7 separate regions of the Homo sapiens genome follow, and regions 1, 2, 4, 5, 6 and 7 are each linked to region 3. The links are contacts of gene promoters, found by promoter capture Hi-C in blood cells and fetal thymus (Javierre and others, 2016). All regions are on one chromosome and are shown on one strand. The core of a region is centred on a gene start or on the middle of the fragment in contact, and the rest is flanking DNA. Distances in the headings are between cores, read along the strand shown.

Region 1 (2,953 bases), core at 95-2,594, 1.1 Mb after region 3:
TACTGGGGAAAGAATTCAGCGATATTTCTCTTATCCATTTTTGGTAATAAGAGAAATATGGCTCCATCATGCCCGGCCCACAGGCAGCCAGACTTTAAGGTTATCTCCCTTGTTCCCAGAAAATTGCTGTTATCCTGTTCTTAAGGTGCCCAGATTTGATATTGTTCAAACACACATGCTCTACAAACAATTTGTGCAGTTAACACAATCATCACAGGGTTCTGAGGCGACATACATCCTCACCTTATGAAGATGACAGGATTAAGAGATTAAAGTAAAGACAGGCATAGGAAATCACAAGAATATTGATTGGGGAAGTGATAAGTGTCTATGAAATCTTCACAATTTATGTTCAGAGATTGCAGTAAAGACAGGCCAGGTGTAAGAAATTATAAAAGTATTAATTTGGGGAACTAATAAATGTCCATGAAATCTTCACAATTTATGTTCTTCTGCCATGGCTTCAGCCGGTCCCTCCGTTCGGGGTCCCTGACTTCCTGCATCACCTAGAACTAGAGCTCTCTTAAGATACCACTTACCAAGTTGCAAATCCTGTGCTGAACTTGTTTTGATTTCAAATGTCTTATACTTACTGGACAAATGTTACTATGAATTCTGCTAACCAATTATCTGCTTCACTTTAGAAGGAAAAACTGTGAATGACAAAATCTGGCAGGAACACAGCAAGCATAAGAATGATTCCCACATCAGAAGGCCCTGTCAGCTAAAAGGTAATTGCTAAATTTAGTTCAGCTGACTTTGCATTTTCCCAAAGTAGTTTAAAGGGCAGGTAAGAAAAATTCACATCTTCCACCATGAAAATAAGCAGACCATTATGGTCTACTTAAAAAGGAAAACCAAATAAGATAGAATAGAATATGCATTATTATAAACTATTAATATATACATGTATACATATATATATGTGTATATATATCACATAGACACATGTACAGAAAGGAAGTGGAATCTGGTTAAGTTGCCTGCTGAAGCAAATAAGCAATTGAAAAGAAAACTGAAAGTTTTAATGTACAAAAAATTTGAAAATATATTAAAAATTAGAGCACGAGAAAACTCTCTAAAGATAACATTGATATGTTAATAGTTATGTTTAAGTCTTCTTAAAAAATTTAAGAGAAATAACCTTGATTATGAATATAAAATGGAGTCATTTTATAATGTAAAAATTTCCAGGAGAGCAAATTAGGAGTCAGGTATAGAATAACATATTAATAGTATGTAATTTCATAATTAAAAGTACTTAACTTTGGGAAGGCAAGTAATAAAACAGAAAGTCTTAAGAGTTTACAAAGATGAAAAACCGTATCAAAAGTTGATCTGCTTGGTATTCACCCCCAAGTGTTATTGGAATGAGAAAAAAATTGATTATTTTAGCTATTGATGATTCAAGAGTCTAGAAATTTCACCTGGGAGTGAAGAATGGATTGGGAACCTTAGGAGTTTGCCTAGTGCCCTATTCTACTGTGGCTGCAAGACAAAGTCCTTTCACTCTCCTGTGTCCTCTCCTTATGCAGAAGGAAGGAGTCTCTCCCGAGGCTGCAAGCTGTGCTGCCTGGGATTGGGAAAGGGGTGATGAAAGCATCCCTTTGGCCACTCCTGCTGATATCTTACTAGATCATGTGCACCTCAGTTCCACTGGCTTTGAGCCCAGCACAGCACCAGGAATTGCCCAGGAATTTCAGGCCCTGTTGTCTGGACTGCCTTTCAAGTTTACTTAGGACCCCAAAGTGCTTCAGCCCACTGTGGAGGGGCTAGTCAGAATGTGGGGGCAAGTCTATATGCTCCCCCTGTAGTGGACAGCTGAATTTTGCCCTGTGTTGCTTTCCACTGTGAGAAACAGCACTGAGGTCAATGCAAAGTCCCACAATAACTTTGCTCTCCCTTCCCCAAGCACAAATATTCTCTCTCAGCACCATGAGGATGCTACCAGGAGATAGAGGAGGAGGGTGGAGTCAGCAATCCAAAACCACCTTTCCTACTTTTTTTAGTGGCTCTTTCAAGGATATGATGTTAGAACCAGGTATTGTGATCACTCACCTCATTTTTAGTTACTTATGGAGGTGCTCTCTTGTGTGAATAGCCATTCAAGTTGGTATTCCTGTGAGAGGGATGATTACTGAGGGTTCTATTCAGCCACTTTGCTCCACTTCCCTCTCTATCATGTTTGGATTGGACTCTGTCTTTACCACATGGATGCCAGCTATATGCATCCACACCTTCAGTCAGTTAATCAAACATTTGTCTATCAGTTTCTCTATTCATCCGCCATTCCATTTATCTATTAATCCTTCTATAAGCACATGTTGTATTTTAGATTATTGTATGTTGATCTATGGATAAAGAAGGTATAATGGTGTTACAGATTATTTTAGATGTAAATTTTTCCATAAATTTCTTCAAGCATTCTATTTCCTAAAACTACCTTTCTCTTATGTATGTTTTTGTTTTGTTTTGTTAATTTGGGAATAATAGGCACGGAATTCTATTATAGCTACACTGAAAAAGCAGCAAAGAATCCTGACCTTAGATGAGTTACTTCTGGTTGCTTTGTCAGAGAAGGAAGAAAGAAAGGCTTTACAGAATTTTTCCCAGCTTTGATATTTCTCAGGGTCTTGAGTGACCATGCATGTTCAGCGAGTGCGTGTGCATGTGTGTGTCCAAGAACCTCAGCAGACATTTCAGTAGTAGCAGTTGAGTCACTGGACATTTCCTAGAAATTAATGCCATGCTAGGAAGAGTTGATGGCCAGAGACCAAGGCTGTCTGTAACATTATAAATTGAAGGGAGAAATTCAAGACCACAAGTTGTAGGCTCAAATTTTATGGGTATAGTGGTTTCATTTGGAAGGCTCAGAGTATTTCTAAGTAATTAGTGACCTATGTATCAACCTAAAATATTTCTTTCTCATTTTAAACACTCCTTTTTAGCTGTT
Region 2 (3,200 bases), core at 234-2,733, 1.2 Mb after region 3:
AATAAGGATATTGAAATTAGAGCAAGTAAAATAGGAGGAATCTGAAGAAGTTGAAAAAGCACTCAACTTCACTTAATATTTTTATTTTGTTTGAGAGGATAGAGGTTTCAAAATAACATACAGACTTTGAAATCGGAAACCTATGAATTTTAAACTAATACATATTGATTCAAATGACGGACAAAATATACATGCTGAGAAAACAATTCTTTCCCCAACTACAGTGCTTCTATGCTTAGTAAAAGCTTCCAATTAAATAGAAAGTCTCCAATTCTTTTGGTTTACATAATGCCTTTCAATCAAAATGCTACACCCACTTTTTTGTATAGAATTACATCTGTTTCAAACTCATTTTTTAACCTACCCCAAGAATGTTTTGAGAGTAGATGCTTTTGCAATCATGAAAACAAGAAGAGATGTAGATTCTGAAATATTGCTGTAGCATGCTACTCTGCTAGAGGCATTTTATTGATAGACTTAAAGTAATGCTAGTTCTGTCAATTTAGTTAGTTGAGAAGTGAAACATTTCCAAATGGGATGCATGATCCAACTATTTAATTTATCCATGATTTGGAATTGTATAGCTTAAGGTAATTATTTCTTCTTTACATTTGGCCTTCCAAAAGGCGAGAATTATACAACATAATCATTTAAGAGCCCTGGAGTTCATATGTCAGAAACGAATACAAGTGAAGTTAAGTAAAAGTTCTATTGGCACCTTTGGTCCCCATGTGCATCTCTATACTTTCTTTAAATCTAAAGAGAACTAAAAATAAAATATTTGAATCTGACTAATTTGCTTTATATTTTTTGTCTTACAGGAATACACCTCAACACTTTTGCTCAATGGTTATGAGACTCTAGAAGATTTAAAAGATATAAAAGAGAGTCACCTCATTGAATTAAATATTGAAAACCCAGATGACAGAAGAAGGTTACTATCAGCTGCTGAAAACTTCCTTGAAGAAGAAAGTAAGTGTGTACACCTACTCTTCTCCCCAGCTGATAATCAGTTTAATGTAAATAGTATAATCATTAGAAACAAAGCCCCAGTTTTATTTACTGAGATCATGAAAGCACGCTTTCCCATAAAATAGGTATTTTCATATAAGTTTGAAAACAATAACTCTGGTCAAATATGTAATTAGGAAAAGGAACTTATTTCCTTATTGGACTCAGGAAATGAAAGGACTTTTCTGGGTACCTCATTTCCACTCTGCAAAGCTATTAATTTACATGCAAGTGGATGCCTGCATTCCCAAAGACTGAGGGAGTTAGAGACAAGTATTTAGTAACAGCATAAGCCATTAGTGCGAAATGTCACACATGGCTTCTGTAGAACAACACGAGGCTTTAAGATAATGAGCCTTCATGGCACACAGGAAAACTCATTTTATGACCACATAGTCACATCTTGTACATGTTTATAGTACTCTTTCAAAATGTTATAATAGCTTGCAAAAATATTCAGCACTCACTTTTATTATCTGAGATGGTTCTCTGTATTTGTAAGTATTAACTGAAGATGAAATAATCTTGGAGATTTACAGAATATTGTCTACAGCAACCAGGCTTGTAAAGATAGGATAGCTTTTATTTTTTATAATTATCCATCCAGACTGCCTTTCCTGCCAAATCCGGTCAGGCCCCCAAACACTGACGTTAGGGTTTGCCAAACTCTGCAAGGAGTATTTTGTGAGCAACCAAAAGGGGAAAGTCTAACTTTAAAGATAAAAAGGAACTTAGATAATCAAATCCAGCCTTCTCTATCAAAAAATACTACTACTAATAATAATTACTAGTATTAATATTATTAGTTTTTGAGATGGTGTCTAAATCTGCTGTCCCGGGTGGAGCGCAGCGGTGCGATCTCGGCTCACCGCGACCTCCGCCTCCCAGGTTGAAGCGATTCTCATGCCTCAGCCTCCGAGTAGCTGAGATTATAGGCATGCCACCACACCCGGCTAATTTTTGTATTTTTAGTAGAGATGGGGTTTCACCATATTGGCCAGCCTGGTCTCGAACTCCTGATCTTAAGTGATCCGCCCATCTTGGCCTCTCAAAGTGCTGGGATTACAAGCGTGAGCCACCGCACCCAGCAGTAAAAATAATACTAGTAATTATTAACTACATTTTTAAAACATATGTGCTCTGAGCAAGACTCTGGGCCAGGGTCTTTCCTGATTATTCTCTTGAGTACTTACCCCAGTTCTTTGAGTTAGACACTACCGCCCTCATTTTTATGATGAGTTAAGACAGCAAGTAACTTGTCTAAGAACACTCCCTTAGTGAAGTGTAGAGTTAGGATTCCAACCCAATGTATGTGCTGCTGTGTTATACTTTCTAACACTACAAGTAACAGCCCAGATGGAGAGTGAGGAGGGAGGAAAGCGTTATTTAGGGACCAGGCCTCCTGATTGTCCTTTTGTGGGCTATTCTATACTCTCTCTCATAAGTCCCACAAAACTGAGGTAGAGCACACGTTTCCTATACACTGGCTTTTTATCTAGTGAAAAGTAGTTTACTTTTTAAGAAACTGGTTTTTACTTTATTCTTATCATCCTTTTCCAAGAGCTTTCACAGGCATAACTAATTTGACATCAGCAGAACTGATTTCATCATCAGGCCTAGGTTATTATATGCTTTCTTTGAAGTTGTGAGGCTGGGAGATGCAAAAGAGAGGGAGATGTGGTCACAGAGGCAGACAAAGTTCAAGCTTCAGAAAGTAGCCAATCTAATCAATATTTCAAGTCAAGACAAAATTGATCAGTGTAAACAGATATAGTAAGTTCGTTCAGGTAAAGGAGTCAGTTTCATTCACATCTTGTCATTTCAAGACGTGGCTCCTCACTAAACAATGTTTGGCTTAGAAGTAGATTCTATAGAGTTTTATTATGGACAATGTCCAGTGTCATTGCCAATACTCTCCAAAATGATTTGACCATGAAGTACAGGGAGGAGAAGAGTATTTTTTGAACACTTGTAAATGATTGCTTTTCTTCCATAATAGCACACATCTAGGTATTTTGCCCAATTTGCAGATGAGGCAAAAATTTGGAGATGAATTTCAAAGAAGTCGAACAGCTAGATGAGTGCAGAGATGGAGATTTAATCAAAGGGAGTCTGCTGTAAAACTCCTCCACATGTGCAAATTGGCCAATATGAAAGCAATGAATATTTGAAAATTGAAGTTTTCTGCT
Region 3 (3,071 bases), core at 344-2,843:
CATAAAATTCTAAAAATAATCTCAAAGCAAAAATTTAGCAGGCTGTATGTAGACAGCCCATTTTAGAACAGGTCTTATTCTAAAGTCAAGCACAGGTAGAATATTGCAATCTACACCAAATCTACAACAGGGTGGGGCATTCATTACTCACCCAGATAAACCAAACATAACTCTGGTGGTTGATCACAGTAAACCCTAACTGTCCCCGTAATACCAACACAACTAAGGCACGGTTTACTCTTTTGCCCAAAATGCTTTTCACGCAAATTAAAAATTAAAAAAAGAAGTTAAATCATGGCCAACTACTCTTCAGAACATGGTGCAAGCCATGATAGTGCACTTAAGATTCTGAAAGCAAAATCTAAAATAGCAGAATGATCTCTATTCACTTTAAAGATATAAAGTTTCACAAACAGTTTTTTAATTGTTTTCTTTAGTGAGTGACCATTTGAATGTGTGACTGATGCAAGAGTAAAGGGTGAACGAAAGAACAAGGTCAAACTTAGGGGACAAAAGATTCCTGGAATAACATGGCCAGAAAGGTTTCCTCTCTTAGGGACAGTTTCTATATTGAAAAAAAAAAAAAAAAAAAAAAAAACAGAAAAGAAGAAGAAGAAAGGGAAACCTTAAAAGGAAAAGAAACCAAGCAAACCACCTACTTCTAGAGTCCACCTGGTCAACACGCCTGCCCCGCGAGGCAGGTAATTCGATTTTGGTGGAGACCGTTTTGCAAAATAGCAGGCCTGGTACACTACTACCTTTGAAAGACAAAATCGGTTCAGAAAGGATGACAACTAGCTATTCTTTCTCATTTAAGGGGAGAGAATAAAGTTTCATTAAGATGCCACACAGAGCACTGTAGGAATGTGAGGGTCGCTCTCAATACCTGGCACCGTCTGCTACGGGAAAACAATCGGCAGAAGGAAGTGGATTGAAGCCCGCAAACTACACTCTGCTTCCCACACGCAGCTGGGCTCTGGGCGCGACGCCCCCGAGGCGATGGGCAGGGGCCGGGGGTGACCGGGGAGGAAGCCCGGGAAGGCGGCGGCGGCGAGGCCGGGGCGCCCGGCCGCAGCGGGAGAGGACAGCCCGTCGGAAGGAGAAGTGGGGCCCGCCGGCTGGCGGACTCGCCTCACCTTCTGCGCCGCGCTCTGCTGCAGCACGTTCTGCTCCACGGTCATGGCCCCCGCGGCGGCGGCGGCGGCGGCGGCGGTGGCGCCCGGCTCCTCGCGCCTCCGCCGGCCCTGGCTGCCGCGCTCCGCCGAGCTCCAGGGAGCGGCGCGGACGGCCTGGGAGGACAGCGCCCCCGCCAGCCAGGCGCGAAGGCGATGGCGGCCGGCGTGCGCGGGCACCGCGGGCAGGCGGCGAAACGCCGACTGTGAGGGCCACGGCGGCCGCCTCACGTCTCCACGCGGCCCGCCTCAGCGCCGCTCGTCCGCGGCGGCCCGGGCCATGAGCGGGCGGAGGACGCCGGGGCACGGGAGAGCGCGAGCCAGTCGGGCGGCGTCACGCGTTCGCACGTTCCTTTGCTGCCGGTCCGCGGGCTGCTTTGGGGAAGGGAGAGAGGGGACGGAGGGAGCGGCCGCCCGGAATGGCGTTGTCCTCCTCCCTCCGCGAGTCCTCCTCCCTCCCCTCCCCCACGCGCCATCCCCGCCCCCGCCCGGCGGCTCCTCCCCCGCAGAGCCCCGCCCGCCGGCCGCCCTAACCCTACATTGTGACCCTCCGGGCGGCGGGGCGGGGCCGCCATGGAGCCCCGCCCCTCCCTGCGCGGGCCTGGCGTTCCCGGGTGGGGCGAGGGCGCGCCTGGCTGCCTGGCCCGGGAGCCGCCCCTGCGGCAGGTTGCGCGACGCTGGCGCTGGGCTTCGGGGAGCGCGACTGGAGGCCGGAGGGCAGCGTTCCTCCCTGCGCCCAGGGCTTGTCGGATCCCTAGCTTACCCAAAGCCTCCAAAGCAAACATTTCCCTCCATGCCCATAACGTCCCAAAACTGCGTAGGGTCCCGAACTCCGGCCCCTTTCTGTGTCACGCGTTCTCTCCCCTCGCCTTTCTAGGAATTTCACAAGCCTTGAACTTGCCTGAAGGGAAAAGTCAAATAAGCAAAGGGTTGCCAGAAATCTTTATGCTGGGAAGTACTTTTCTCCTTAACTAATCATTACGTAAATGAATATAGACATTTTCTATCTACCTTCATTCATTCGAATATGTGTCAGTCACTGCTAGGCTCTGGAAAAATAAAGTTTATCTTCCCAAGACTTAATATAAATGAAATAGGATCTATCTAGCAAACAACCTTACAAAAATATCACTGCCTAATGATACATAATTCTAATATCCCAGTTGCCAAATTAAGCAAACAATTAACTACCATGCATGGAATGCTTGACTATATATGGAATTGTAAGGAAAATCTAACATTAAGAAAGCAATCTCTAGCCACAAAAATATCTCGAGTTCCAGGAGCTAATCTGGGAACGGAGGTGAGAGTGCAGCAGTGTGAGGAGAGAAATTATCAATGCATATTGTCACAAATAGAATACACTTGAAAATCCGGGTATAATTTTTAATCCAATGACAAGGAAAGCAAGCTTGGCAAATGCTAATTGAAATAGTATGTGGTGTTATTTAATAATCATGGATTATAGTAGCTCTTAAGGCTTTGTAACAGTTCTGTGCACTTTACAACCATCTTTGTTCTGCAGCTCAGATGTCTGGTACCACCTGTTGTCACCTTTTCCTTGAAGCTTCATATTTGTTGACTCATTTGATATTTAACAAATTGCAAATCTTATTATATTAATATCCTATGTCTTTTCTAGAGGAAATGAAAAGTCATGAAACGGTTGGAAACAGAAATTTAGAAATACTGTCACATCTCTAATCTCACGTATCGATTTTTTTATAACTCTGAAGCCCAAGGAGGGTGACCTGTCAAAGAGAGCTTATCAAAACCCATTTTTCTTCATTTATAGATCAAAGTTTCTTCTTTTCTTGTTTATATGCTAACTTCATGTTTCTCCATATGAGGGTTTTGGTTTTTTGGTTTGTTTGTTTGTTTTTTAGAAATCAAGCTCAT
Region 4 (3,211 bases), core at 164-2,663, 1.2 Mb after region 3:
GGTTTTTTTTCCCCTGAATACTTTACGTGGTTACAGTTATGCTACTGCTATTTTTAATTAAATAAGAGTGGCTGGGCATGGTGGCTCACACCTGTAATCCCAATGCTTTGGGAGGCTGAAGTGGGAGGATTGCTTGACAGGAGTTCAAGACCAGCCTGGGCAACATAGTGAGACTTTGTCTCTACAAAAAATAAAAAAAATAAAAGTTAGCTGAGCATGGTGGTGCACATGTGTAGTCCCAGCTACTCAAGAAGCTGAAGCAGGAGATTGCTGGAGCCTAGGAGTTCAAGGTTACAGTGAGCTATGATCACATCACCGCACTCCAGTCTTGGCAACCCTGGAGCAAGAGACCCTGTCTCAATAAATAAATAAATAAATAAATAATAAAAGTAATAAAATATTAAATATGTACATTTTGTAATACTTATGATTATAGTTTCTTTATATTGTAAGTTATTACATAGCAATCATCTTTTATCTTTTGTTTGATTTGTATGTTAGGACATCTAAAAATTTCAAATTACTTTAAGATTATGACTATCTCACTGTATTTAATTATCAATTATGAAAAAGTCATTACCAATAAAACAAATGTTTATAACTTTAAAAATACAGTTCCTTCAAAGATAAATGTTCTACAATTATTGAACATTACATTATAGGTCAAGGAGTGATTATAAACTGAGTTTCTTTTTACCACTACTCTTATATTTCAACTCTGCTATTAACCCCCTCAGGAGATTGAAGTATTCATCTAACCAAATCCCAGTTTTCTAAAAGGTAAATAAATGTAATTGACAATAAAAATAGTTATAGGACACTAACATCTCTTCCAAACTTCCTAACATGAACTTACTGTTTTATTTTCCCACCCATTCTTCCTCTATTTGGGATGACATACCATATATTTGCCCCCACATAAACATGTCTGTTCTTACTAAGAAAAAAAGTGTTTAAATTCCTAAGACCAGCAGCAGTGGGTGCTTCCTGGGATGGGAATGTTTATAAGCTTTATGATATTAACTGCAGCACTCAACCTCAGGTGGCATAAAGCATGCAAAAAAGAACTTTCTGTCAGTTTTATTATTTCTAAAAAGGTTCCCCTTGAAACAGAAGAGTGACCTTGCTCTGCTGAGCTGACATATGCCACTGGATTAATGGTCGAGCTCTGCTGGAGGGAAGCTCACGGAAACATTACAACTCCAGAAGCTGGGCTGGCGGTGACCATTAATCAGGGGGCCCAAAATCATGCATCAGACACACTCATTTAAAAGTAGTAAAAATGACTCAAAAAAAAACTTTTTGAGAATTAGCTTATTGTTTGTCATTACTTGTGTTCAAGGAGATCACAGAATGACTAAAATATCCCTTGGGCAGACCTTTAGAAAGGTTACTGTGTACCCAGAGGCCAAGTGAATGCAGAGGACTTTTAAGACTAATGGAAGTAAAAGGGAGTTTTTGTTCCAGATAATTTGATAGGAAATTTGGTTAAAAGGATTTTGTTTTCCCAACTTAATTTTTACATCTTTATTTAACCATAATTTCAAAGTAATGAGTACTATAAATGTTTGCCTCTTGGTGATAATTTTATTTTATTTTAAAATCTGGAGTGACTGGAATTTACTAGTGTAAAGATGAGATGGGTAAACTGTTAGGAAATATTTCAGGAAACTAAAGTTTTGTTAGCATACTCAATTATCACGTATGTTTAAAAGTTTTGGGGCTTAAAAGTACTGCACATTCTTCCATCATGTTAGATAATAAAAAATTTTTGAGATTTCCTCTCTCTGATTATTGAAAAGAAAAAAAAAAGCTTACATCTAAGATCCTGAAAGAAATTGCTCAATTTAACTTAGCTAATAATGTTACTCTTGGGTTTTCTTTTTTAACTCCTTTGATGATAAAATTGAATAGACATAATTTCTCTTTTATACTTTTAATAGTTTGTCTTTTAGATTAATGACACTATACAAAATACATATGATAAATCTTATTAACAGTACAACAAATAGAAAAATCAGTCACTTATTACAAAAACCAGAATAAATTTGGTATTTAAGTTTATGGTTAATGTAGTAAGGTCTATTGAGATCAATATTCGAAGTTATTCTTCTCTTAACTAATAGTTGCTTTTTTAAACCATCATCTTCAATATTACCTTTTGTCTATTTGCCATATCCTATACAGCAGTATTATTTAGGCAGAATTATTTATTTGTAGAATTATTTGTTTTTGTTTAGTTATAGAATTAAAATAGTTGAAAATGATGTGACTAGTTAAAATATTATTTAATATTCTATAATAAATAGAAAAATAAAATATGCATAGAAAAGACAGTTAATTTCCAAACTTATGGAAGAATAATGTATATTTTTTGTAAATTGAAAATTTCAGTCATCCATCTTTTGAATTGCCCTCCCTGTATCAAGGTACCTAGATAACAAAATTAGTAATGCAAAATTTGCTCAGGGAAATAATTTGAGTAGAGGTGGCAAATGCAGTTCCTCTCTTCTTCCCCTAAACACCCACTATCTTCTGTAACCACTGTGGACACAGTTAATCATGACTTTTTAACTCTGAAAATGGCTTTAGAACGCTTCTCAACACAGCTCTTCATGAAACATCGACCAACTATCCATGCTGGTGCATGAGTTGAAAACTTTTTGTCAGTTTTAGTTTCAAGAGATAGTTCATCCAGACAATGAAAAATCCCAGTGAAATATCCCTATAACAAATAAAAAATATTTTTATAGTGACCTAAATGATTATGTTTACTAGAGACAGTATTTATTTCTCTCCTATGAAAGTTTGGGAGAGAATTATATTAGATACTAGACACATTTTTTATCATCCAGTGATCCATCTTATACATAGCATATGTTCCACTACCTTTCTTACTTATCATAACTTTAGCAATCACAATCTTCGGATTTGGTGATTATTTCTTTCTTTTTTTTTTTTTTTTTTTTGAGACGGAGTCTCGCTCTGTTGCCCAGGCTGGAGCGCATTGGCTCAATCTCGGCTCACTGCAAGCTCCGCCTCCCAGGTTCACGCCATTCTCCTGCCTCAGCCTCCCAAGTAGCTGGGACTACAGGCACCCGCCACCACGCCCGGCTAATTTTTTTGTATTTTTAGTAGGGATGGGGTTTCACCGTATTAGCCAGGGTGGTCTGGATCTCCTGACCTCGTGATCCGCCTGCCTTGGCCTCCC
Region 5 (3,054 bases), core at 46-2,545, 1.3 Mb after region 3:
ATTATAGAATTAATAAATTATAGTCATTTTTCTCCTGGCTTCAAAAGCAACTACTTGTACAGTAAAGGTTACTTAATTAAAATTTATCCAACTGAAACACCCATTTCTCTGAAACAAATGTTTGTGCAATTGACATCAACCAACTCTTCACATGAGTAGGTAAGAATAAACAGTGGAATGATGCCCAATGAATATCAATTAAAACAAATTGCTCCTAATAAACTTTGCACAGGCCCATGTTCACATGCACCTGTGTGAGCCCACACCCCCACCCTTGGAACTTTATTATTGTAACTTGTCTTCTCTAAAAGATCAATTAGCATTGACTGCATCTTAAAGACTATGTCTTCATTTTATCCTTGAAGCCTTAATTTTAATCACTGATAAGGCACAAGTTTCAGGTAGGACCAGCTATGTAATGGGAGACAGCCTGAGTGCTTAGAAAAAGGATCCAGTGCAAAATGAAAATGCACAACCTCTTGTTCAAAATGATTAAGAATTTTAAGACAGCAATACAATAGCAGAGCATTAAGCCAAATGTGGACCTTTGTGAGAGCACAGCCCTGTGCAACAACACAGGTTACATGAAGCTGGCCCTGATTTCAGATATTCCTTATCAACAGTTCCCATGTGAATTTTCCCAAAGACCATAATGCAGATGTATGGAAATGAAAACAACCTGCCTAAAAGTCACATTATGATCACATCTTCTTTACACAGGCTTATATTAACTATAAAGGCATTGTTGGGTACCCATTAAAATTCCATTTCAATCAAAACGTGGCATGCTTACTTGACTTTGCTTTTCTCCATTCTAATCAGCCTTACTCACATAACTTACGAAGCAGAGAAAATGCTATGTGTTCCCCAAACCATGTTTATTAGCCTCTTGGGTATATTCCCAGCCCTCTTGCATTCAGCTGGGTCCTTGTAATCAGTTCACGTCAATGGTAGGGCCTGACTCATAATATCTGCTTTGAGATTCATGTCCTCCTCTCATTAGGTTTTCCTTACTCTTTCTTTGGCTACCTTCATCTCTTCATCTATATGGCTGCAAGCAAGGAACACTGAAACGGGGAGCCCACCAAAGGAAGAGCTCAAATCCCTGGGTCATTTTTAGAGGAAAGCATTCGGGAATGTTGCTTGACCCCCATTTGAGTGCTACATAAAATTAAACTTTATTACATTAAGCTACTTATATTCCTCTAATACTCTAAGTTAGAGGGTATGATAATCTGAGGCAGGGGGATAGGGCCCAGAGGGGTATCAAAATTGTCAAGCAATTCTGATACACAGGAACCTTGGGCCACCTTTTGAGAAACGGCTGAAGTCATCCAATCAGCAGACTATAAAACAATGTGCTAGCCAATAGCTATCAGGTTATCTTGTGGGGATATTTATATTCTTATAATAGTATGCATTAACAATTTTGAAAGCACTCTTTCCTATGTATTTCTAGAGGATTCTGGAGCACTGTGAGGACTTCAACATTGCTAACAATGAATTATCTGGGATAGAATGACCAATAGCAACAATGATACCTGCTGAACATACCCTCAAATCTCACAAATTGTCACCTGTCTGCCTGTAGTACTTATAGAACTCAAAATCTCAAATTACCCAGGAAGAATTTGATGGAAACCCTGGAATCTGGGCTGAGTCTAATAATCTGGGAACATTGATCTTAGGAAATTCAGGGCCAGGTATTATTGGGAGGGACGAGGGGAGATGCACAGAGTGCTCAGAATAATGGCAAGTGTTATTCTCCCTTTGGCTGCAGAATGTCAGCATTTATGGGAAAAAGTCGATCAAGTACTTACTGGATCTGCTTAATCAAGCATAATCGTCGCTATGTGACTGGCAGTTATTGGAACGTCCTGTGTAAGACAGTGCCAGAACCAGTATGCAAATAACTACTTATATTATAGATAGTAAAAGGAAAAATAACTTTTTCCTCAGCACAGGAAATCAACATGATGCAATACAAGAACGTAAAGTTTGGCGTGTGAGGGATTTGGGATCATGCTTAGTTTCAACACTTATTTGCTTCAGGTTCTTAAGCATCTAAGATCCAGTTTATTCAAATGTAAAGGGGAGGTTAATGTCCACATTGCAGTGTTGTTGGGAAACTTAAACAAGTAAAGCATCTAGTATGATTTCTGCAAGATTTTACCTCTGCCCAGCTCATTATTTGTATCATATAATATTATTATTAATACTTTTAAGATTTAAGCATGAAGAAGCACTTCCATCAGGCACTTTCAAATTTGTACCATAAAGAATCCCACTAAGCATCCTTTCTGCCTTCTGTAAAACTTAGAAATTCTTTTGCCTAGTCTTTTTCAAGACACATAGTGTCAGGCATTTATCATCATCTCTTCCCCACATAGACAGACATATACTCATATTCCAAACATAGCTTCAATTGTCCAAACACTCATAAGTTGTAGGAAATAATAATTTATTAAATATTTATAAAATATTGAACTATTTTATTCACACAAGGGACTTTAATGAGAAAAATTACTTCTCATCCTCAATCTTAAAAAGAACTCTCAGGATCCTGATTTATATAGATTTTTCTAGACTGTCCCTTTTTTACTACCTACCTTTATAAATGTTTTATTTACTGTGCTGTAAGAGGTGTAGGATAGTTTTCCTCTGAAAAAAGCCAAAAATTCTTCAAATATAAGTGAAAGATGTAATTTAAGGATTATTTATAAGTGCATTTCTGAGACATGAATTAGACATCATATAAATTACTATAATAAAAATCTATCTTTTCTTCAATAATTTCAAAGCTGCCTCCCATTTTAATGTGTGCAGCAGTGTTGATATAGAGAAATGTAATTATCTAATACATTTGTTATTTTAGCTGAATTAAAAGCATTTTAACTCTTGAAATATCCTATGCCACGTAAGATTTCAGATTAAACTCTATGGCAACACCTAAAAGATCAAAATATACCTCTTCACATAAGACAAACAGGATACAAAATTTACAGTAGTTTAATTAGTATAAAAATAGCTATTTCTGCTTTGTTTGTAAATTAG
Region 6 (2,924 bases), core at 46-2,545, 1.2 Mb after region 3:
TTTTTTATTGCTTTATTATTTTGTCTTTTGTAAACAATTCTAAACTAGGCACATGAAGGAGATCCCACAAATGGAAGTGGAGAACAAAGTAAAACTTCAAATAATGGAGGCGGTTTGGGTAAAAAAATGAGAGCTATTTCATGGACAATGAAGAAAAAAGTGGGTAAAAAGTACATCAAAGCCCTTTCTGAGGAAAAGGTAAATATTCTCTGATAATCATTTGTATTTTTCTACTAAAACTTTCTTAAACTATTCAGCTAGACTATAGAAGTGCTTGGTACTTTATGAAGTACTTAAGCATTTGTTTTCTTCCTCAGTCATTATGCCCAGAACTTGGGTGGAAGGAAGTATTACTTTCATTTTAACAGAAGAAACTGACACTCAGAAAGATCATGCATCTGCTGGGTGCAGTGGCTCACACCTGTAATCCGAGCACTTTGGAGGCCGTGGCGGGAAGATCACCTGAAGTCAGGAGTTCAAGACCAGCCTGGCCAACATGGTGAAACCCCGTCTCTACTAAAAATACAAAAATTAGCTGAGCATGGTGGTGCACGCCTGTAGTCCTAGCTACTCAGGAGGCTGAGGAAGGAGAATCGCTTGAACCCGGGAGGCGGGGGTTCCAGTGAGCCCTGATTGCACCACTGAACTTCAGCCTGGCAACAGAGCAAGATGGCGTCTCAAAAAACAAAACAAAAAAAAAGATCATGCATCTAGAATGTGATGCGAAGAACAATGTGAAGAACAACATGTCATTAATTTAGTAGCAAGTATCAGTACTTCATTCCTTTTTATTGCCAAATAATATTTCTCCTTTTATAGATGGATCACATTTACTTTATCCATTTATCACTTAGTGATTACTTGGGTTGCTTTCACTTTTTGGCTATTATGAATAATGCTGCTACAGATACTTCTGTTCAATTTTTGTGTGGAAATATTTTTTCATTTCTCTTGGATATATAGTAACTCCATGTCTAATAGAGAAACTGGCAAATTGTTTTTTTAAGCAGGTGTGTCATTTGACATTCCCATCAACAATGTATGAGGGTTCCAATTTCTCTGCATCATTGCCAACACTTGTTATTGTCTGTCTTTTTAATACTAGCCATCCTAGTGGATGTGAGGTGGAATCTCATTGTGATTTTGATTTACATTTGGTTGTACTTTACGTTTCCCTGATGACTAATAATGTCAAGAATCTTTTCATGTGCTTTTTAGCCATTTATCTATCTTTGTGGAGAAGTGTTTTTCAAATCCATTGTTCGTTTTTAATTGGGTTATTTATCTTCTTATTGTTGAGTTTTAAATGTTTTTTATATATTCTGGATGCAAGTTTTTTATCAGATATATGACATGCAATATAATATATTTTCTCCAATTCTGTGGATTGTATTTTTATTTTCTTGATGGTGTTGTTTGTAGCACAAATGTTCCTAATTTTATTGTAGTCCAATTATCTTTTTTTGGTCACTTGTGCTTTTGGTAACATATTTAACAAACCATTGTCTAATCTAATGTAATGAAGATTTATTCCCATGTTTTCTTCTAAGAGGCCAATAGTCTCTTAAATTTTGGTGTATCATTTATTTCAAGATAATTTTACTGTACAGTATATAGGAAGAGTCCACCTTCATTCTTTTGCATGTAGATATATAGTTGTCCTTACACTATTTGTTGAAAAGACTATTCTTTTCCTATTTGATTGTCTCGGTACTCTTGTTAAAAATCAATTGACCATAAATATATTGTCATAAATATATGGATCATAAATAAGTGAGTTTACTTATGGACTCCCAATTCTACTTTATTGATTTTTATGTCTTATGTCCATTCTCTTTTTCAATCCACTTCAACAGGGCTCTGTCTCCAGTACTCCATTAAAATAGCTGTCGCCGTCAGTAGTGACCTCTGTGTTGCCAGGTCCAATGGTCACTTTTCTTTCTCCTTACTACTTTTCAACTGTATTTGACCCAAGTGCTGATTTCCTTACATATAAAACATCCACTTTTCTTGTTTTTTTTTGACTAGGCATGCTTCTGGCATTTCTTCTTCCTCATAGCTTCCTTTCTTGGCTCTGCTTTCTTTCTCATCCCTTGAAACATCTTCCTGAGGCTTGTTCCTGGATGCTCCATTGAATCTACATTCTCCCCTTAAGTCAGCTCATCTACTCTCATGATTTTGTTTTTCACAACTATATCTCTAGCTATGACCTCTTCACTTATCTGCTATATTAATACAATCAATTGCTTATTTGATATCTTCATTTAGATGTCCAGTAGACATCCAAAACCTAATATATCCAAAGCTAATATATTTATTCTCTACACTTTTACAAAAAAAATGGTTTTCTCATCCAGTATTCCCAGTGGCAGCAGACAACACTGATCCCCAAAATAAATAAAAACAAAAATATAAAAAATAGGAAGAAAAGAAAATCTAAGAATCACCCTAAATTCCTTCTTTTTCTCACTTTTCACACTAATTCATCAGTAAATTCTCTGAATTGTATTACCACGTATATATAAACTCCCTAATTTCTCCATGTAAACTATTCCTGCTTTAGACTAAATAACCAACCTTTCTTTCCTGGATTACTATCATAATCCCCTAATTGCTTTCCATTCTTTTTATTCTTTCCCCCATAAAATTTATTCTCCATATGAAAGCCAGAAATATCTCTGACAAGTGGAAATCAGGTCATGGTTAAAATTTCAGTGTCTTCATAGTGAACCTCTTTACTTGGTGTGTTCATTCTAGATCCCAAGAAAAAGAGTAGAAACACCACAGATTTATGACAGGAAATGCTAGGAAGGCTAAAGAGAAAGCCTTTAGACTGCAACGTAAATCTGACATCTGTAAAAGGATGAGGAAAAGGAAGAAGAATCAGGTAGAGAGAGTCTCATACTTCAGCAGAATACTGAGAA
Region 7 (2,978 bases), core at 322-2,821, 1.1 Mb after region 3:
AATAAATAAATAAATAAGGTGATGGATAAAACAACAAAAAAATTGTTTTAAATACATAGTTGGATATGTGAGTCTGAAGCTCTGCAGAGAGGCCTGGGGAAAGAAATAAATTGGGAGTCATTAGCATATAAGTGATATTAAAAGTGGTATGTGTGCATGCATGCACATGAGAAGAGAATGGTGGTGATATCAGATAAAAGGCCAGGGTTAATCCTTAAGTAATTTCAAAATTTAATTTCAAGAAAAGGAAGGTGTCAGCATATAGGAGTTATAGAGGGAAGGGCCAAAAAAGGCAAAAGGAAAATCAGAGGAACATGGTGTCACAGAAGCCAAGAAAAGAGAGTGTTTCCAGAAGGTCACTGTGGTCAACATTGCTGAATATCAAATAGTAAAGGAGTTTAAGAATGGCTCATTAGATCAAAATGACAATTAAAAGGGAATGGTAGAGATGAAAGCTGATAGATGAGATAGATTAAAAGGATGAGAAGTTAATAGAATTAAAGGAAGCATACATAGTTCACATTTTTGATACAAATGCCTAGGATCAAAGAAGAATAGAAAAAGTGGTAAATAAAAGATGGTGAAGTAAAGATGAATAACATGAAGCACATTTGAATGCTATTGGGAAGAGTCCATTGAAATGGAAAATCAAAATTCAGTAGAGAGAGAAGAACAAAACTGTAAACCAAGTTGTATCACCCTCTGATTAGATATTCCATATTCTTCAACCTGCTCTACAGAAGCTTCCTGGAAGGATCTCTGTTATTCTCTGGGCTCATCTCTTGGTACTCTTCCTTTCTTTCCCTTCATGGGCACATACTAAGCATTCTTCCAGAAATTCCAGCTTTAGAACCTTTGCAAACTGTATTGTGTTCCAAGACTTCTCTTCTCTCTGCTACTTGCCTGGCTGACTTTTTCTCCAATGCAAGTCTCAGGTGAAATATTCTTTCTGACCATCTGCTGAATTCTAAACCCTCTCTAAATCTTCACATATCTGGTTCCTTCTCATCATTCAGGCCTCAGCTTTAGTATCTTCAGTGAAGCTCCTCCTGATCAGTATATTAATAAACCCTCTTTTTGCATCCTCACTAATCACCCTGTTAATTATTAATACAGCATTTCTTATGTCACATTCTTATGTTTATATACTTGTTTATATGTTTATCGCCTGTCACCTCCCTCTAGAATTAGACTTGATAAAAACTGTGATCTCATATTACTTCCTCTATGCCATATCCCCAGAATGTGAGATAGTGCTTGGCATTTACTAGGTGCTCAAATAAAAGTTTATTGATTTGTTGAATGCTAGGTTTAATTTATGGGTTAATCTTCTTAGAACACATTTAAAATTTAAAAGGTATGTTACTATAAAACTTAATCAATCACATTCAGTACAAATATGTAGGTAATGGATAAGAGAATTGAGATAAATAGGGTTATTATTTGAAAAATATTTGAGGATTTTTCTTTTTTTTTCTTTTTCTTTTTTTTTTTTTTTTGAGATGGAGTCTCGTTCTGTCACCCAGGCTGGAGTTCAGTGGTGCGATCTCGGCTCACTGCAATCTCTGCCTCCCGGGTTCAAGCAATTCTCCTGCCTCAGCCTCCCAAGTAGCTGGGATCACAGGTGCATGCCACCACACCCAGCTGATTTTTGTATTTTTAGTAGAAACAGGGTTTCACCATGTTGGCCAGGATGGTCTCCATCTCCTGACCTCATGATCCGCCCACCTCAGCCTCCCAAAGTGCTGGGATTACAGGCATGAGCTGCTGCACCTGGCTGTATTTTTAATCTGAATACATTTTCTTTTTAATACATAGTTGTAATGATTCTATACCTTTTATAATAATATTAACTCTAAATTTCATCCCTTGGATATATAGTACCTATTAACAAGAGGAGGTTGTCCAGAAATAATTTGCTACTAGAAAGTAATGAGTCTAGTATCAAACATGTACTATGGATACTCCATTTTGTATATAAAACATGTATAAAATTAGGATTGTATTTACATTCAGTACATATTTATTAAGCCATGTACAATCCTAGGCACATAGGATTTTTAAAAATAAATAAAATGCAGTAGACTGATGTCCAGTAACTCAAAGTGAATAAAGATACAAAAATTAACAATATCATGCTTTAAAAAGGCTACAATAGAATGTGAACAAAATAATGAAAGGTCAGTTTGTTTTAAAACCTCTAGGACATGAGATCTTACTTACCTGAATTCAGATACCTTCCAAATGCTTTAGTTCCTCTTGGGGGAAAATCATTTATACAAAGTTCCATTTCCCTGGTATATAATACCTTTCTCCACATTAAGTGAAAGCCTTTTTCACAAAGGGAGAAGAGAAGACGATTTTTGTTGCCAGTGTTTCAGTGGAGCAATTAAGCTTTGGCTGTAACAAGAAGTTGCCATAAGAATAGAAGCACAACAAAGAAAAAATGGTTGTGCAATGTCATCTTATTATTTCTGAAAGGGTCTAAAGAGTAGAAAATGGCCTTTCCTGAGTTGTAAAGGGTCTATAAAATCAAGTAACTCAGAAAGCACTAAAAGAAACACTGAGAAATAATACAAAAAAATAAACAGCAATAGAAATTGTGTTGAGCAGAGCATGGCCTTTGGAAAGAGAGGGAAGATTTTGTGCTTCTAAGCATATCTCATCACAGTCCTTTCTGAAAGATTAAAATGATTTCAATATTTTCCCACTTATTTAATGCAAAAAGGTAGGGTTCCTCTGACAAAAACGTCACATTTCCTACGTAAGTGCTATTTTGCAGAGACAGATCAACAAGTTTATACTGGTTGTGCAAAGTCATTCTTAAAGAACAAAGATAACAGCTGAGTATAAAGATTGGAAATGTTGCATGTCAGATATCCTTTACTTCCAAACATTTATTTGGGCTTATAGTCTCCTTAAAAGGATTGGAAAGCATTATTATAAATATGTCTCATTCAAACATTAATGAGGAAGCA

Evidence for each region. The method cuts DNA at HindIII sites, captures the fragments that hold promoters and counts their contacts. A CHiCAGO score of 5 or more calls a contact.
Region 1: a fragment that was not itself captured here is called in contact with the fragment with the promoter of USP25 in region 3 in 1 of 17 cell types (neutrophils); the score reaches 7.2 in neutrophils.
Region 2: a contact is called between a fragment that was not itself captured here and the fragment with the promoter of USP25 in region 3, in 2 of 17 cell types (non-activated CD4 T cells and neutrophils). The highest score is 6.7, in non-activated CD4 T cells.
Region 4: a fragment that was not itself captured here is called in contact with the fragment with the promoter of USP25 in region 3 in 1 of 17 cell types (total CD8 T cells); the score reaches 5.3 in total CD8 T cells.
Region 5: a contact is called between a fragment that was not itself captured here and the fragment with the promoter of USP25 in region 3, in 1 of 17 cell types (neutrophils). The highest score is 6.6, in neutrophils.
Region 6: a fragment that was not itself captured here is called in contact with the fragment with the promoter of USP25 in region 3 in 1 of 17 cell types (neutrophils); the score reaches 6.5 in neutrophils.
Region 7: a contact is called between a fragment that was not itself captured here and the fragment with the promoter of USP25 in region 3, in 1 of 17 cell types (non-activated CD4 T cells). The highest score is 5.6, in non-activated CD4 T cells.

Annotation. Positions count from the first base shown.
Region 1 is chr21:14,607,260-14,610,212 of GRCh38, reverse strand. It overlaps a transcript of SAMSN1 not described here. Among named protein-coding and RNA genes, the nearest start is that of SAMSN1-AS1, 27 kb to the right of the region's middle. The HindIII fragment of the contact is 9,758 bases long and covers 1-2,953 here.
Region 2 is chr21:14,496,214-14,499,413 of GRCh38, reverse strand. It overlaps SAMSN1 (SAM domain, SH3 domain and nuclear localization signals 1), which reads left to right. Exons shown (of 8, transcript NM_022136.5): 7 at 822-972. The region is part of intron 1 of LOC124905053 (a long non-coding RNA gene); the gene reads right to left. Among named protein-coding and RNA genes, the nearest start is that of SAMSN1, 49 kb to the left of the region's middle. The HindIII fragment of the contact is 2,471 bases long and covers 248-2,718 here.
Region 3 is chr21:15,728,504-15,731,574 of GRCh38, reverse strand. It overlaps USP25 (ubiquitin specific peptidase 25), which reads right to left and starts at 1,593. Exons shown (of 26, transcript NM_001283041.3): 1 at 1,137-1,593. The coding sequence starts at 1,181. RefSeq lists a silencer at 1,029-1,988. The HindIII fragment of the contact is 4,884 bases long and covers 1-2,585 here.
Region 4 is chr21:14,530,075-14,533,285 of GRCh38, reverse strand. All of the region lies in intron 1 of SAMSN1 (SAM domain, SH3 domain and nuclear localization signals 1), which reads left to right. All of the region lies in intron 1 of LOC124905053 (a long non-coding RNA gene), which reads right to left. Among named protein-coding and RNA genes, the nearest start is that of SAMSN1, 15 kb to the left of the region's middle. The HindIII fragment of the contact is 804 bases long and covers 1,012-1,815 here.
Region 5 is chr21:14,471,948-14,475,001 of GRCh38, reverse strand. No RefSeq gene overlaps it. Among named protein-coding and RNA genes, the nearest start is that of SAMSN1, 73 kb to the left of the region's middle. The HindIII fragment of the contact is 3,531 bases long and covers 1-3,054 here.
Region 6 is chr21:14,514,166-14,517,089 of GRCh38, reverse strand. It overlaps SAMSN1 (SAM domain, SH3 domain and nuclear localization signals 1), which reads left to right. Exons shown (of 8, transcript NM_022136.5): 3 at 49-198. All of the region lies in intron 1 of LOC124905053 (a long non-coding RNA gene), which reads right to left. Among named protein-coding and RNA genes, the nearest start is that of SAMSN1, 31 kb to the left of the region's middle. The HindIII fragment of the contact is 3,266 bases long and covers 1-2,924 here.
Region 7 is chr21:14,584,784-14,587,761 of GRCh38, reverse strand. SAMSN1-AS1 (SAMSN1 antisense RNA 1) reads right to left here. Exons shown (of 5, transcript NR_046512.2): 2 at 2,224-2,400. It also overlaps a transcript of SAMSN1 not described here. Among named protein-coding and RNA genes, the nearest start is that of SAMSN1-AS1, 4.1 kb to the right of the region's middle. The HindIII fragment of the contact is 1,651 bases long and covers 746-2,396 here.